2 separate regions of the Homo sapiens genome follow, and region 2 is linked to region 1. The links are contacts of gene promoters, found by promoter capture Hi-C in human tissues and cell types (Jung and others, 2019). All regions are on one chromosome and are shown on one strand. The core of a region is centred on a gene start or on the middle of the fragment in contact, and the rest is flanking DNA. Distances in the headings are between cores, read along the strand shown. Region 1 holds the start of GPRC5A (G protein-coupled receptor class C group 5 member A). Region 2 holds the start of GPRC5D-AS1 (GPRC5D and HEBP1 antisense RNA 1).

Region 1 (7,030 bases), core at 2,120-4,619:
GGCGGGCACCTGTAGTCCCAGCTACTCAAGAGGCTGAGGCAGGAGAATGGCGTGAACCCGGGAGGCAGAGCTTGCAGTGAGCCGTGATCGCACCACTGCACCCCAGCCTGGGTGACAGAGCGAGACTCTGTCTCAAAAAAAAAAAAAAAAAAAAAAAACCATCCTAGACTTTTATGCACCAACTAATATAGCACCAAAATACGTAAAACAAAAAGTACTGAAGGCTGGGTACAGAGGCTTACACCTATAATCCCAGCACTTTGGGAAGTGAAGGCAGGAAGATTGCTTGAGCCCAGGAGTTTGAGTCAAGCCTAGGCTACATGGCAAAACCCCATCTCTACAAAAAATTTAAAAATTAGCCAGGTGTAGTGGTGGGTGCCTGTAGACCCAGCTACTCAAGAGTCTGAGGCAAGAGGATCACTTGAGCTTGGGAGGTGGAGGTTACAGTCAGCCAAGATTGTGCCACTGCACTCCAGCCAGGGCAACAGAGCAAGACCCTGTCTCAAAATAAATAAATAACTGCTGAAAATACAAGGAGAACCCAAAGGCAATACTATAGTTGCATGAGACTTTCATACTTCTTTACCAGTCCTTGGCAGATAAAATATACAATATGAATAAGAACATGGTAAAATTGTGTAAATGTTCTATGGATACTTAAATAGAAATATTCTCTATCTTCATATCTTATTAGATCTCCATTACTAATCATATAATTCAGATCCTCTATATCAGTGATCAGCATAGATTTTCTATAAAGGGCCAGGTTATAAGCAATTTAAGACTCTGCAAGCCACACATTTGTAGCATGAAAGCAGCATAGATGATACATAAACATATGAGCATTGCTGTGTTTTAGTAAAATAGTGGATTACAGGTTGTGGCTCATGCCTATGATCCCAGCACTTTGGGAGGCCGAGGCAGGCAGATCACCTGAGGTCAGGAGTTTGAGACCAGTCTGGCCAACATGGTGAAACCCTGTCTCTACTAAAAATACAAAAATTACCCAGGCGTGGTAGCGGGCGCCTGTAATCCCAGCTACTTGGGAGCCTGAGGCAGGAGAATGGCTTGAAACCTTGAAACCGGGAGGCAGAGGTTTCAGTGAGCCGAGATCACGTCACTGCGCTCCAGCCTGGGCAAGAGCGAGACTCCATCTCAAAAAAACGAAAACAAAAACAAAACAAAACAAAACAAAAATCACTTTATTTACAGAAAGAGGCTATAGGCCATATTTGGTCCATGGACCATAGTTTGCCATCTCTACTCTATTATGATTGCTTAATAGGAACTATGGTCCATGGTCCAAATGGAACATTTGCCAAAAATGAGCATATTTAGAATACAAAGACAAATCTGGAATTAGAAAATAAGAAATGTGCAGACCATATAGTCTGACCACAGTGCAATAAAAATGAGAATAAAAGAAGCAAACACCCTGAACTACTCAGGAAGTCAAAGATTCCTCAAGCAAAAATACTCCTCAATTTATTGTTTACTATACCACCATATTAATTCCTCAGCTTAATCTTGGGACTTTAAATAGTAGTGGACCCAGAATGAGAAGAATAAAATCACGCCGTCAAAATTGTTCTTCATACCCTGTTGTCTTCGATTACCATTCAAGACTAGAATACAAAAAAGCCAGTTCTAAAGGGAACTTCCAAGGCGACGTGTGCAGATGGAGAGGGGCCAGAATCGAAACACAGGAGGGGAAACTGGGGGCCTCCCCAAGACCCCTATGAGGAACTCAGGCCCAGCCCCTTGCCTGATCACAGTTCCATGTTCCTGCGGAGCTGGGAGGAGAAATCAGTCTTCCTGACTCAAGGTTGAGAGCTCTTCCCGGGAAACCAAAGGGTTCTGCTCATTCCATTCTGCCCTTGAGGCACTCACCTCTCCACGCCCTTGGAGAGGTCCCTTGTTTCCCACGTAGCGCCTCTCCCGGCCCTTCCTTCCCCTCATTCCTTCCCTCACCTAGCAGACACCGGCATGCAAACCTGGAGGGTGTGTGCCCCCTCCGCCCTCACCCCTCCCGTGGTCCCTAGCCCATTGTGTCTGAAGTAGCTGAAGTGTTCCCCTTCAGGAATGAACCCACAGCAGTGGCTGATTCGGCCGAACCCTTCAACAGGTGTGGTGTTTACACAAGCCTCTGAGGAGACAATCAGGAATGGAAAGAAGTCAGGAATGGAAAGTCCTTCAAATTCCTTGATTCTGAGCAGGTTTCAGCTGTTAGCTAGCCTTTCCCATGGATGTTTAAAGCTATCTGTGGCCGGGCGCGGGGGCTCACACCTGTAATCCCAGCACTTTGGGAGGCTGAGGCGGGCAGATCACCTTAGGTCGGGAGTTTGAGACCAACCTGACCAACATGGGGAAACCCCGTCTCTACTAAAAATACAAAATTAACCAGGAGTGGTGGTGCATGCCTGTAATCCCAGCTACTCGGGAGTCTGAGGCAGGAGAATCGCTTGAACCCGGGAGGTGGAGGTCGCGGTGAGCTGAGATCGCAACATTGTACTCCAGCCTGGGCAACAAGAGTGAAACTCCATCTCAAAAAATAAAATAAAGCTATTTGCCAGCCTTCCCCATGGATGTTTAAGGGACCAGATGGAACAGCATCTATGCTATTCCCAAATCCTATCCATAAAGTCGGTAGTGGAAGGTGCACTCTCAGCGCACATTCAACTTTCATCTGTCCCAGGTTTCTGAGCAACTCAAGGCACACCAGAGTGGAACTGACCGCCCACACATCAAGAGAAAAGGGATGGGCTTCTAGATCTAATTCCCAAAACTCAGAAGGGCTTTTTGCAGCATCTGGGTAAAATAGTAGCTGTCACCGTGTCCTCCCTCCTGCCCCTGCCCCTTGTTTCCCACTCCCCCTCCACTCCCAGTACCTTCGGGTCCTCTGAGATCTTTCTCCCTCTATTCTTTTCCTGCAGAGTGATCCCAGAGCTGCTCACCTCCTGCCTGGCCGGATTCCATCTACTCAAAGTTTGTAGAATGTGTCCGAGCAGAAACTATTACCCTGATTATCTCTTTGCTCTCTGCCTCTATCTTAGCCTAGGAAACCCGCAAAGGGGAAAAAAAAAAAAAAAAATCTGAGTTGTTAAACTAGAGGAACTGTTTCCTAGGGAATTTTTTTCTCATAGCCAACTGTATTCCATTACCAGGATTTCTCTCCTCTTCTATCCCACCCCTCCCAACGCCCCGCTCTCCCCAGACGATTTAAATCCGGAGGCCCCAGCGCTCTGGGCTCCTGGCGCCTCACTTACCCTAGTGCCAAGGCGTTGGCCGTGAACTTGGTGCTGCTTCCCGCGCGCAAGAGGGCAGCAGGCGAGCTCCTCAGTGCTGGGGGAGACCTTGGACAGCTATCCCGCCCTCGCACTCTGAGCAGTTGTTATAAAGGCGGCCCTCGCCGGAGGGAGGGAACGAGCGAGGGGTGAGCAGAGGGACAAGGAGGGGGAGGGTCGAGGGAGAGGACACGCCTATTCCAGTTCCACGGCACTTCATGCTGTTATGAAAATAAAGTCCCCGTGCCAGGGAATGACCCAAAAACCGTCTGACGTCAGAGGCACAGTCACCCCTGGAAGCTGGGCGGGGGTGACCACCCGGCCCTGCCCAGCGCATCGGACTCCTCCGAGACGTGCTCACGCGCTGGTCCCAGGGCGCCGGCTACGAGAGGGGAGCCGGAGCAGACCAGCTCCTTACGGGCCCCGCCAGCTGTCACCTCCCGGGGGAGCCACACCCGCCTCCCCGCAGGCACTCGGGTCCACCCGGGGCAAGGGCCCAGCCCGCGAGATTGCAGCAGCTCCGCCGTCAAGTCCAGCGGGACAAGCCAGCCTTCCTCCACTTTCTTTGACCTTAGCTTAGCCTTTCTCTCCATCACTCTCCCCCAGCCACTGCCGTATGGGAAGCCAGGCTTCAGAAAAAGGAGGCAGCCACCTTCTCAGGGCTCCCCAGCCAAAGCCACGTGAAAGCCAAGGAAAACTTCCCCCACCAGGTCCGTAGTTAGCTCAGCAGCTCCACCTGTCAGAGTCTAGACAGGCACCATTAGTGCTGCCCTGGGGCTGAGAGATCAGTATCTCTCCTTTCCTAACTGCCTCTCCTAAAGCCTCGACAATGCAGGCTGATTGAACGGGGGCGCCAGATGAAATTATGAAATGAAGGAATTTGCTTTGGTGCCTGGTTTCCCCTCCCTCCACTGCCCACTCCTCTTCCAGGATCAAGCCAATCGGACCGAAACTCGTCTTTGTTTACGTGTGGAACGATCCTGGAGTGGCTGCCCGCCTGTGTCGGGGCTCAAGCCAGGTTCTACCCCATGCCACGGGGAGGCAGGAGGGACTCTGTTTTTAAAGTGGTTATCAGCGCGCTTGGTAAACTAATCTGGATTATTCTGCATATGAAGAAATGGGGGAAGGCCCAGGGCTCCCCAGCTTTCTCTTCACTTCTCCCCACACCCCAAGTCTCCAGAGCCTAAAGTGCTTTTAAAATGTGACCTACTGGAGACTGTGACCCCACCATTGTTAGGTTTTTATTTCACTCCCAAAAAACCACAGGCAGTGCCTTGAGTGTTGGAACACTTTGAGGTATGCAGCCCAGGGGTCTGTGAGTCCACCCATTTCACACCTAAGACTCCCAGGGGTGTGTGTGGCAGAGTGGGGGTGGGTACTGAGAGACTGGTGGGACTGCAAATGACAGTGCTTTATAGTGTGTGCCATCCGCTAAGTCAGGGCTTCTCTCCGGACCCCAGCGTTCTCGTCTGTTCAAGAAGTTGAACTAGACTACCATTGTACAATAGAACTATAATTCAAGCCACAAACATAAGCCACATTTGTTTTTTATTTTTTGTGTGTTTTTTCTTTTTTAGACAAGGTCTCGCCGTCACCCAGGCTGGAGTACAATGGCACAATCGGCTCACTGCAGCCTCAATCACCCAGGCTCAAGCTATCCTTCCACCTCAGCCTCCCAAGCACCCAGGACCACATGTGTGCATTACCACACCTGGCTAATTTTTTTGTTTGTTTCTTGTTTGAGACACTCTCACTTTGTCACCCAGGCTGGGGTGCAGTGATACCATCATGGCTCACTGTAAGCCTTTACCTCCCAGGCTCAAGCAGTCTTCCCGCCTCAGCCTCCCAAGTAATTCTTTTTATTATTTATAGAGACAAGGTCTCGCTGTGTTGCACATGCTGGTCTCAAACTCCTGGGTTCATGCCATCCTCCAGCCTTGGCCTTCCAAAGTGCTAGGATTACAGGTGGGAGCCACCACACCTGGCCCACATATGTCATGTTAAATTTCTAGCCACATTAAAAGAAGTACAAAGAAACAGGAAAATTAATTTTAATAACACTGTATATTTTTTACCCAAATATGATCCCAAATATGATCATTTCAACATGTAATCAATATTTTTAAAAATATTAAGGGGCTATTTTACTTCTTTGGTTTCCAACTATATCCTCAAAAACCCAGTGTGTCTTTTATATTTAAAGCACCTGTCAGTGTGGACCAGCCACATTTCCATTGCTCAAAAAGTGTGTGTGGCTTGTGGCTACCACACTGGATAGTGAGGACTAGTTGTCCCTGGTGGCTCTTCCAGCACGGAGTCTGAATCACCATGTCTAGGGTGAGTTTCATGACATCGAGCAAAAGACGTCAAGTCTGAGGATGGTGAAAGAACAAAGATGATGTGGTTTTGGGGATCCTACCCTATCTCTACACCCCCTCCCCAGGACCACATTCCCATTAGGTCCTCCTAATGAGAATGTGATGAGTGTATTTGATCTTTCCTTTGTTCACTGTTCTCTGGATGGTATCTGTCTGGCAGGTCCAGGGTGTGTGAGACAGAGAGCATGTGTGGGGATGCTTGTTCTGAACCTGTCTTCAGTCATTGCTCTTCACTTTGCTATTGGCTTTGTTTGTTGTTGTTGTTATTCTTAGAGACAGTGTTTCACTATGTTGCCCAGGCTGGAGTGCAATGGCTATTCACAGGCCACCATAGCTCACTACAGCCTCCAACTCCTGGGCTCAAGCCATCCTCCTGCCTCAGCCTCCTGAGTAGTGCCATTGACTTTGGATGTCCCACCTTGTCCTCTTAGTACTCTCTTTTCTACTCTCCTCTTAACCTCTTGGTCTCCTCCTATCCCTTTATGGAGACACCTGCCTGCACAAAGCCAGGACTAGATGAGGCCAATGAGGCAACCAGAGCACAGATTTCAAGGAGGCACTCCACAACTTTAAGAGTGAGTGCCCCTTTAAATCCTGAGCTCTAGTCCCCTTGCTTGCCTCTCCCAGTCCCGGCCCTGCACCTGTGTCCCTGGGGGCTGGCTCTCTGGAAGAAGACAGGGAGGACTAGGGCAGGTGGAATAGCTGAGTGATTCTGGGGTATCTGAGTGATTTTGAGATGCCCCAGAGGAGAAGAAGGACAGGACCAGTAGATGGAATCATTCACTTCCTAGGTCTCTCATCCTATTAAAATGGTCTGCAGACCAAGGTTGAGGGTTCTTGGGAATAAATGAAAGAAACAGTAGGACGGGGGTCTGGAGACCCATGTTTCACTCCCAACTCTAGTTATCATCCTTAGAGTGTCACCCGGTTGAAAGTGATGGGTAGCTTTGTTGAGCAACACAGAAGAAAGCTCACCAGACTGGAAATGAGGAGAGGAGAAGAGAGAGCCCCACAATAAGGGCGCCATGTTCCCCCAAAAAGAGAGGCTGATCTGATGGTGTAGAGGACCTTCATTCAGCTGCAAGGCCAGCAACGTGTGGGCAGGGGTTAGGGGGCCTATGGCCCAAGATCACGGGCCTGGGTCTGCCTCATTCAGGAAGTCCCAGAACTCAGTCCCTGCTGACCCCTTCCCTTCTGATGTCCACCAACCATCACCACCGAGATCCCCACTCTTGATTGCAGGAAGGAAGCAAGAAAAGAGACGGCTCTGCCAGTGCCCTGATCCTGACCCCCTTCCTAATGCCGCCTTGGAATTCCCGGCTGCAGGACCTCAGGCCTGGGGCTTCCCCTTTCTCTCCCTTTGCTTTT
Region 2 (7,030 bases), core at 2,964-5,463, 34 kb before region 1:
AGCACTGCTGTGCTAGGCCCTCTTGGAGCCCGAGACAGAAGGAAACGTGTGTGTCCCTATATGCGCTTATCAAAATATCTTCCCATGCTTTGAACCAAGTGGAAAAACGTCATTTAAAAGTCTCCAATCAAAAAATTAAGCCTCAGCCGGGCACGATGGCTCACGCCTATAATCCCAGCACTTTGGGAGGCGGAGGCAGGTGGATCACTTGAGGTCAGAAGTTTGAGACCAGCTGGGTCAATGTGGTGAAACCCCATCTCTACTAAAAATACAAAAAAATTAGTCAGGTGTGGTGGCATACACCTGTAATCCCAGATACTAGGGAGGCTGAGGCAGGAGAATCGCTTAAACCTGGGAGGCAGAGGTTGCAGTGAGCCAAGATCGCACCATTGCATTCAAGCCTGGGCAACAGAGCAAGACTCCATCTAAAAAAAATAAAAATAAGAAATTATATATATATATATATATATATATATATATAAAGCCTCCTTCCCCCCATCTCCCTTTCTTCTCTCTTTTAAAACAAAAATAAAAAGGCCAGGTACAGTGGTTCACACTTGTAATCCCAACACTTTTGGAGGCCAAGGCAGGATGATTTGAGCCCAGGAGTTCAAGACCAGCCTGGGCAACACAGCAAGACCCCCATCTCTACAAAAAAAAAAAAAAATCTAATAAAAATATCCAAGAGGCTGGGCATGGTGGCTCATGCCTGAAATCCCAGCACTTTAGGACGTTAAGACGGAAGGATTGCTTGAATCCAGGAGTTCGAGATCAGCCTGGGCAACATAGCAAGGCACCGTCTCTACTAAAAATCAAAAAAATTAGCTGGCCGTGGTGGCACGTACCTGTGAACCCAGCTACTCAGGCAGCTGAGGCAGGAGGATTGCTTGAGCCCAGGAGGTTAAGACTGCAGTGAGCTGTGATTGCACCGCTGCACTCCAGCCTGGCAACAAAGCAAGACCCTGTCTCAAATATTTTAATAAATTTTTTAGAAAGTACCCAAGAATGGTGGCACACACCCATAGTTCCAACTACTCGGGAGGCTGAGGTGGGAGAATTGATGGGGCTTGAGAGGTTGAGGCAACAGTGGGCCATGATGGTGCCACTGCACTTTAGCCTGGGCAACAGAGCAAGATGCTGTCTCAAAAAAAATTTTTTAAGCCCTCCCTTTCTTTCATCTTTCTTCCCTCTCAAAATACAAACAAACTATATATATGTGTGTGTGTGTGTGTGTATGTACATATATACATATATACATATATGTGTGTATATACACACATATACATATATGTATATATGTATATATTATATATACACATATATGTGTATATGTGTATATATGTATATATTATATATATACACATATATGTGTATATGTGTATATATGTATATATTATATATATACACATATGTGTATGTGTATATATGTATATATTATATATATACACATATATGTGTATGTGTATATATGTATATATTATATATATACACATATATGTGTATGTGTATATATGTATATATGTATATATATACACATGTATGTGTGTATATATGTATATATGTATATATATACACATGTATGTGTGTATATATGTATATATACACATATATGTGTATATATGTATATACACATATATGTGTATATATATATTGCCCAATTTGTTTGTACCCCATTGTCAACCCTCACAGATCCATGGCAGGGACACAGCAGCCACATAAGCCCAGGATCCAAAGCCTGATTGGAAACGGCTCCTCTCTTGCAGTAACGCAAGGTCGTAAAACAAACCAAACAGCCTGCTTTTATAAAATTTTGATATGTTGTTTATCATGGGCTTTTTGGTATTGATTTTGTTTTAAAAAATATTGTGGTAAGGCAGGAGTGACTGAGGCAAGTATTAGAGCAGGAATGAAAGTTTATTAAAAAGTTTTAGAGCAGGAATGAAAGGAAGTAAAGTACACTTGGAAGAGGCCAAGCGGGCGACTTGAGAGATCACCCACTGGACAGTCTGACCTTTGACTTACGGTTTTATACGCTGGCATGCTTCCGGAGTCTTGTGTTCCTTCTCCCCTGACTCTTCCCTTGGTGTAGGCTGTCCACACTTGCGCAGTGGCCTGCCAGCACCTGGGAGGGGAGCATGCGCAGTGTGTGGCCTGCCAGCACCTGGGAGGGGAGCATGCGCAGTGTGTGGCCTGCCAGCACCTGGGAGGGGAGCATGCGCAGTGTGTGGCCTGCCGGCACCTGGGAGGGGAGCATGCGCAGTGTGTGGCCTGCCAGCGCCTGGGAGGGGAGCATGCGCAGTGTGTTTGTACGCATGCAGGAGTTGTACACATGCTCACGTGAGGCGTTCTTCCCTTATCAGTCGAATGTCCCTAGAAGGTCATATACCAGTTAAACTCTGGCATTCTGCCTGTTAGTGCTCATGCTTGAGTACACTCGCCCAACTGCTAAGATCTTACCGGGAAGCTGCTTATCACCCGTTTCAGGTGTTTTCTATCTACTGGGAGCCTGTCTTTCCCTAGCACCGGCTGCGACCAATTATTATTTTAGAGCGACAGACTAACAGCCGCCTGACCATCACCTGATGGTCACCTGAGGTTCCTGCTATTGGAACAGACCCTCTCCTGCCCTGCTCATACCTGACAGCTACCTACTGTAACACACCTAGGCAGATAAAGATGAGATTGTGGAGTTCCAACAGAAGCAGACATTAGGGAATGAGCTGAAAGGTGGAGGTGGAAGTTGTTCAGGGAGATGAGATTGCGCGGGGTACGTAAGAAGAGAGCCTCAGTAGGCTTCGCGGTGGAGCAGGCTGTCCCATCTCCAGCGAAGCTCCCCCCATGCCTCTGTCTCCATATGGAGTTCCACTGTTAACCCTGGGCATCTCCAGCAAGATCCCTACGGGGAGAGGGAACGCATCTGAGTACTGTTTGCAGAACCACACACGACAGCTCTGAATGAATAAGCCAAGACAACACCCCGAGATTCTTCCTGCGGATTTGGGTTCCCAGGCCGGGAAGGAGCTGTTGGAGCCTGCATGGAAGATTAGTGGATCTGCAAAAAGACAATGTGGATGACTGGCCGACGCCTTGTCCCAACCCTGTCCAAGCAGAAGAATCGCCGGGATACTTGCTCTGGATACAAATTCTTGGACCCTGACTCAGACCAACTAAATCAGAACCTCTAGGAGGCCTCCAGACACTGCATTTTTAACAAATTCCCATGTGATTTTTAACGCAGTATAAGTTTAGGAAGCGCTGCTCTGTTGACAAGGAAAGGCTCTGGTCTGGTTTGTAGCAGACTGTCCAGGCTTTCCCAATTTGGTCCAAAAAGGCAGAAAGTGATTGGCTTGAGAGGGCAGAATCAATGGAAAAAGTTTATGAATTCCTGCCCCTGGGAACATTCGTCTTTCACTTTTCATCTTCTTCCCCACCCCCACCTCTTTGGGGTATAGTCTTCCCCATGCCCCAGTTCCACATCTGCTCTGACCTGGGGTTCCCACCCAGCCTCCATCCAGAACACGCTCACCCTGTTTTTGTAAGAGAAAACATTGTCAAAATCAGCTTATGCCTGAAAATTCAAGAAGATAAATTCCTCCTGAGCCCATTTGCTGGCATTCTCATCTGTTTCCAGTTTGGTGTATATCATCTGAAGGGTCCTTGTTCATCCATTTTGGTTCAAGTCAGTTTAGAAAAGAAATGCACTTTACACTGGGCACAGTGACTCACGCCTGTAATCCCAGCACTTTGGGAGGCTGAGGCGGGTGGATCACTTGAGGTCAGGAGTTTGAGACCAGCCTAGCCAACGTGGTGAAACCCCATCTCTACTAAAAATACAAAATTAGCCAGGCATGGTGGTGGGCACCTGAAGCTACTTGAAAAGCTGAGGCGGGAGAATCACTTGAACCCAGGAGGTGGAGGTTGCAGTCAGCCAAGATCATGCCACTGCACCTCAGCCTGCGTAACAGAGTGAAACTTCATCTCAAAAAAAATTTAAAAAAGAAAGAAAAGAAATGCGTTTGGAACACAATGCAATCGATCTTTGGAGAAAATCCATCTAAAATGCTTCTCTTATTGTTTTTGGGGGTTTTTTTTGTTTTGTTTTGCTTTGGGGTGTGCTTTTCTCTTTTCTCATATTTAAAGTTTGTTCTTGTGTGGTTCTCCTAGGAAACAGCACTTTCCCAAGCTTGACAAAGAAAAGCCTCAGGGAAATAAATTGGGATGTGATGAAATGTATTCAGCCCAAGAAGTAAAAAATTCCTTTCCTTTCTTCCAAGCCTCGGGCTTGTAAGTTGCTTTTATCACACTGGATTTAAGTGTTCTTATATGGAAACACACACAAAAATCTGATGGTTGATCAGCTGAAATTCATCAAAATTATTTGAAGACAAATTGGCATTCAAGACACCAGAATAGACAAGAGAAGAACCTGAGGGCTGTGTTCTCTGAGTGAAAGGACATCATTCTAATTAGCCTGTGACAAAAGAAAAAAAAATACCCTTCTCCCAAAAAGTTTATTCATTTTACCCATGTGTACAGGCACTGTCCTAGGCTCAGGGAATACTGAGAAAAACAGAACAAATTTCTGTCCTTCTAAAGCCTATATAATAGAGAAAAACACACAAACCAACAAATAAATCTAAATTCGAAATTTCAGTACCCTGAAGACTTACCACTATGGGAGCCCAGCATTAAACTGCCTGCTCTAGCCGGGCACGGTGGCTCACGCCTGTAATCCCAGCACTTTGGGAGGCTGAAGTGAGCAGATCAAGAGTTGGAGATCAGCCTGGCCAACATAGTGAAACCCCGTCTCTACTAAAAATACAAAATTAGCCGGGCATGGTGTACAGCCAAGTAGCTGTAATCCCAGCTACTCGGGAGGCTGAGGCAAGAGAATCTCTTGAACCTGGGAGGTGGAGGTTGCAGTGAGCTGAGATCGCGCCACTGCACTCCAGCCTGGGCAATAGAGAGTTCGTTTCAAAAAATAATAATAAAAAAAATTAAAAACTGCCTGCTTATATCTGGGCCAGCTTGTAGTCCCAGCTACTTGGGAGGCCGAGGAGGGATGACTGCTCGATCCCAGGAGTTCAAGATCAGCCTGGGCAACATAGTGAGAACCCATCTCTACAAAAGATAAAAGGTAAATAAAAATGAAAGATCGTGAAAATCAAGGTCACAGGGATGGATCACTCACCGTGAGTTAGGGACAGTTGGTGACATGCACTGCTTTTCAGCCACACAATCGGCAACCCTGTTTTGCTACTGCCTTGAATGGAAATGTGTTTTATTTGGCATGACAGTGTGCACATACACATACGGTGATAGGAGGCAAGGGCACTGGTTTCATCTCACGTGTAGAAATGACTCTCCATACCTTAGGCTTACGGCCAATTGGTGTATACAGGAGTGGACATGGATGTGGGTGGATGTGTGGGTGTGTCTGTACACACAGCCACCAGCCGGTACCCCACACATACCAGGAATTTCTGAGATTCTCACAGACTACTGAAGAAGATGTCTGGGGAGCATGAAAGCTTCTCCACAGCCAGCCATGGTGACTGACACCTGTAATCTCAGCACTTTGGGAGGCCAAGGCAGAAGGACTGCTTGAGCTTGGGAGTTCAAGACCAGCCTGGGCAACATAGAGAGAGCCCCCCCACCCCCGCCATCTCTATAAAAAATCAAAAAAAGCTAGGTGTGATGGTGCACACCTGTAGTCCAAGTTACTCAGAAGCCTAGGGCAGGTAGATTGCCCAGCCTGGGTGACAGGGCAAGACAAGAAAGAAAAGAAAGAAAAAGAAGAAAGAAAGAAAGAAAGAAAGAAAGAAAGAAAGAAAGAAAGAAAGAAAGAAAGAAAGAAAGAAAGAAAGAAAGAAAAAGAAAGAAGGAAGGAAGGAAGGAAGGAAGGAAGGAAGGAAGGAAGGAAGGAAGGAAAGGAAGGAAGGAAGGAAGGAAGGAAGGAGGGAGGGAAGAAAGAAAAGGAAGGAAGGAAGGAAGGAAGGAAGGAAGGAAGGAAGGAAAGAAAAGAAAAGAAAGAAAGAGAAAGAGAGAAAGAGAGAGAAAGAAAGAGAGAAAGAGAGAAAGAAAGAGAGAAAGAGAGAAAGAAAAGGAAAGAGAAGAGAGGCCGGGCACGGTGGCTCATGCCTGTAATCCCAGCACTTTGGGAGGCCGAGGCGGGCGGATCACAAGGTCAGGAGATTGGGACCAAGCTCGCTAATGCGGTGAAACCCCATCTGTACTAAAAGTACCAAAAGTTAGCCGGGCGTGGTGGCAGGCGCCTGTAGTCCCAGCTACTTGGGAGGCTGAGGCGGGAGAATGGTGTGAACCCAGGAGGCGGAGCTTGCAGTGAGCCCAGATCGCGCCACTGCACTCCAGCCTGGGCAACAAAGCGAGACTCCGTCAAGAAAGAAAAGAAAAGAGAAGAAAAGAAGGAGGGAGGGAGGGAGGGAAGGAAGGAAGGAGGGAGGGAGGGAAGGAGGGAAGGAAGGAAGGAAGGAAACCTCTCCATTATGCAGAATATATAAACAGCCATTTTTCTTTCTAAACTCTAGTTTTCTTTTAAAGTTAAATGCAACACCCATGCATGCAGACTGTAGCCCTGATGATCTGGGAAAAATATACAGGTACCAATTCATCAATTCATTGTTTCTGGCACTGCCGCCAGGTTTGTCAGAGAAAGGAAAGGACAGAGGACTTGGCCAGGGCCTTGGGGGCGGGGAGGGGACGGCCAACATAATCAAAAGAACCATCTCTGAGCATGCCGGGTTCTGTGCATTTAGCAGGCTGCTCCTCCTCACCTTGTCCCCCGTCTTTCATGAAGCCAGGGCGTTCTAGAAACGTAGAGGAAAAACTGGAATGACGTTCTATGATGAGGTCAAACCCATCTGCCCAATTTCACACACAGGTCTGACCCTTTGGGAATTGTAACAATATTTTCCTGAATTCCTGATTCTCTTTTTTTTTTTTTTTTTTTTTTGAGATGGAGTCTTGCTCTGTCACCCAGGCTGGATGGAGTGCAATGGCATGATCTCAG

The links. Contacts are between HindIII fragments. The study calls those that stand out against the background at their distance.
Region 2: a contact is called between a fragment that was not itself captured here and the fragment with the promoter of GPRC5A in region 1, in 1 of the 25 tissues and cell types used here (aorta).

The regions. Positions count from the first base shown.
Region 1 is chr12:12,887,901-12,894,930 of GRCh38, reverse strand. It overlaps GPRC5A (G protein-coupled receptor class C group 5 member A), which reads right to left and starts at 3,369. Exons shown (of 4, transcript NM_003979.4): 1 at 3,267-3,369. The HindIII fragment of the contact is 16,829 bases long and covers 1-7,030 here.
Region 2 is chr12:12,922,796-12,929,825 of GRCh38, reverse strand. GPRC5D-AS1 (GPRC5D and HEBP1 antisense RNA 1) reads right to left here and starts at 2,100. Exons shown (of 3, transcript NR_149067.1): 1 at 2,023-2,100. The HindIII fragment of the contact is 5,285 bases long and covers 1,571-6,855 here.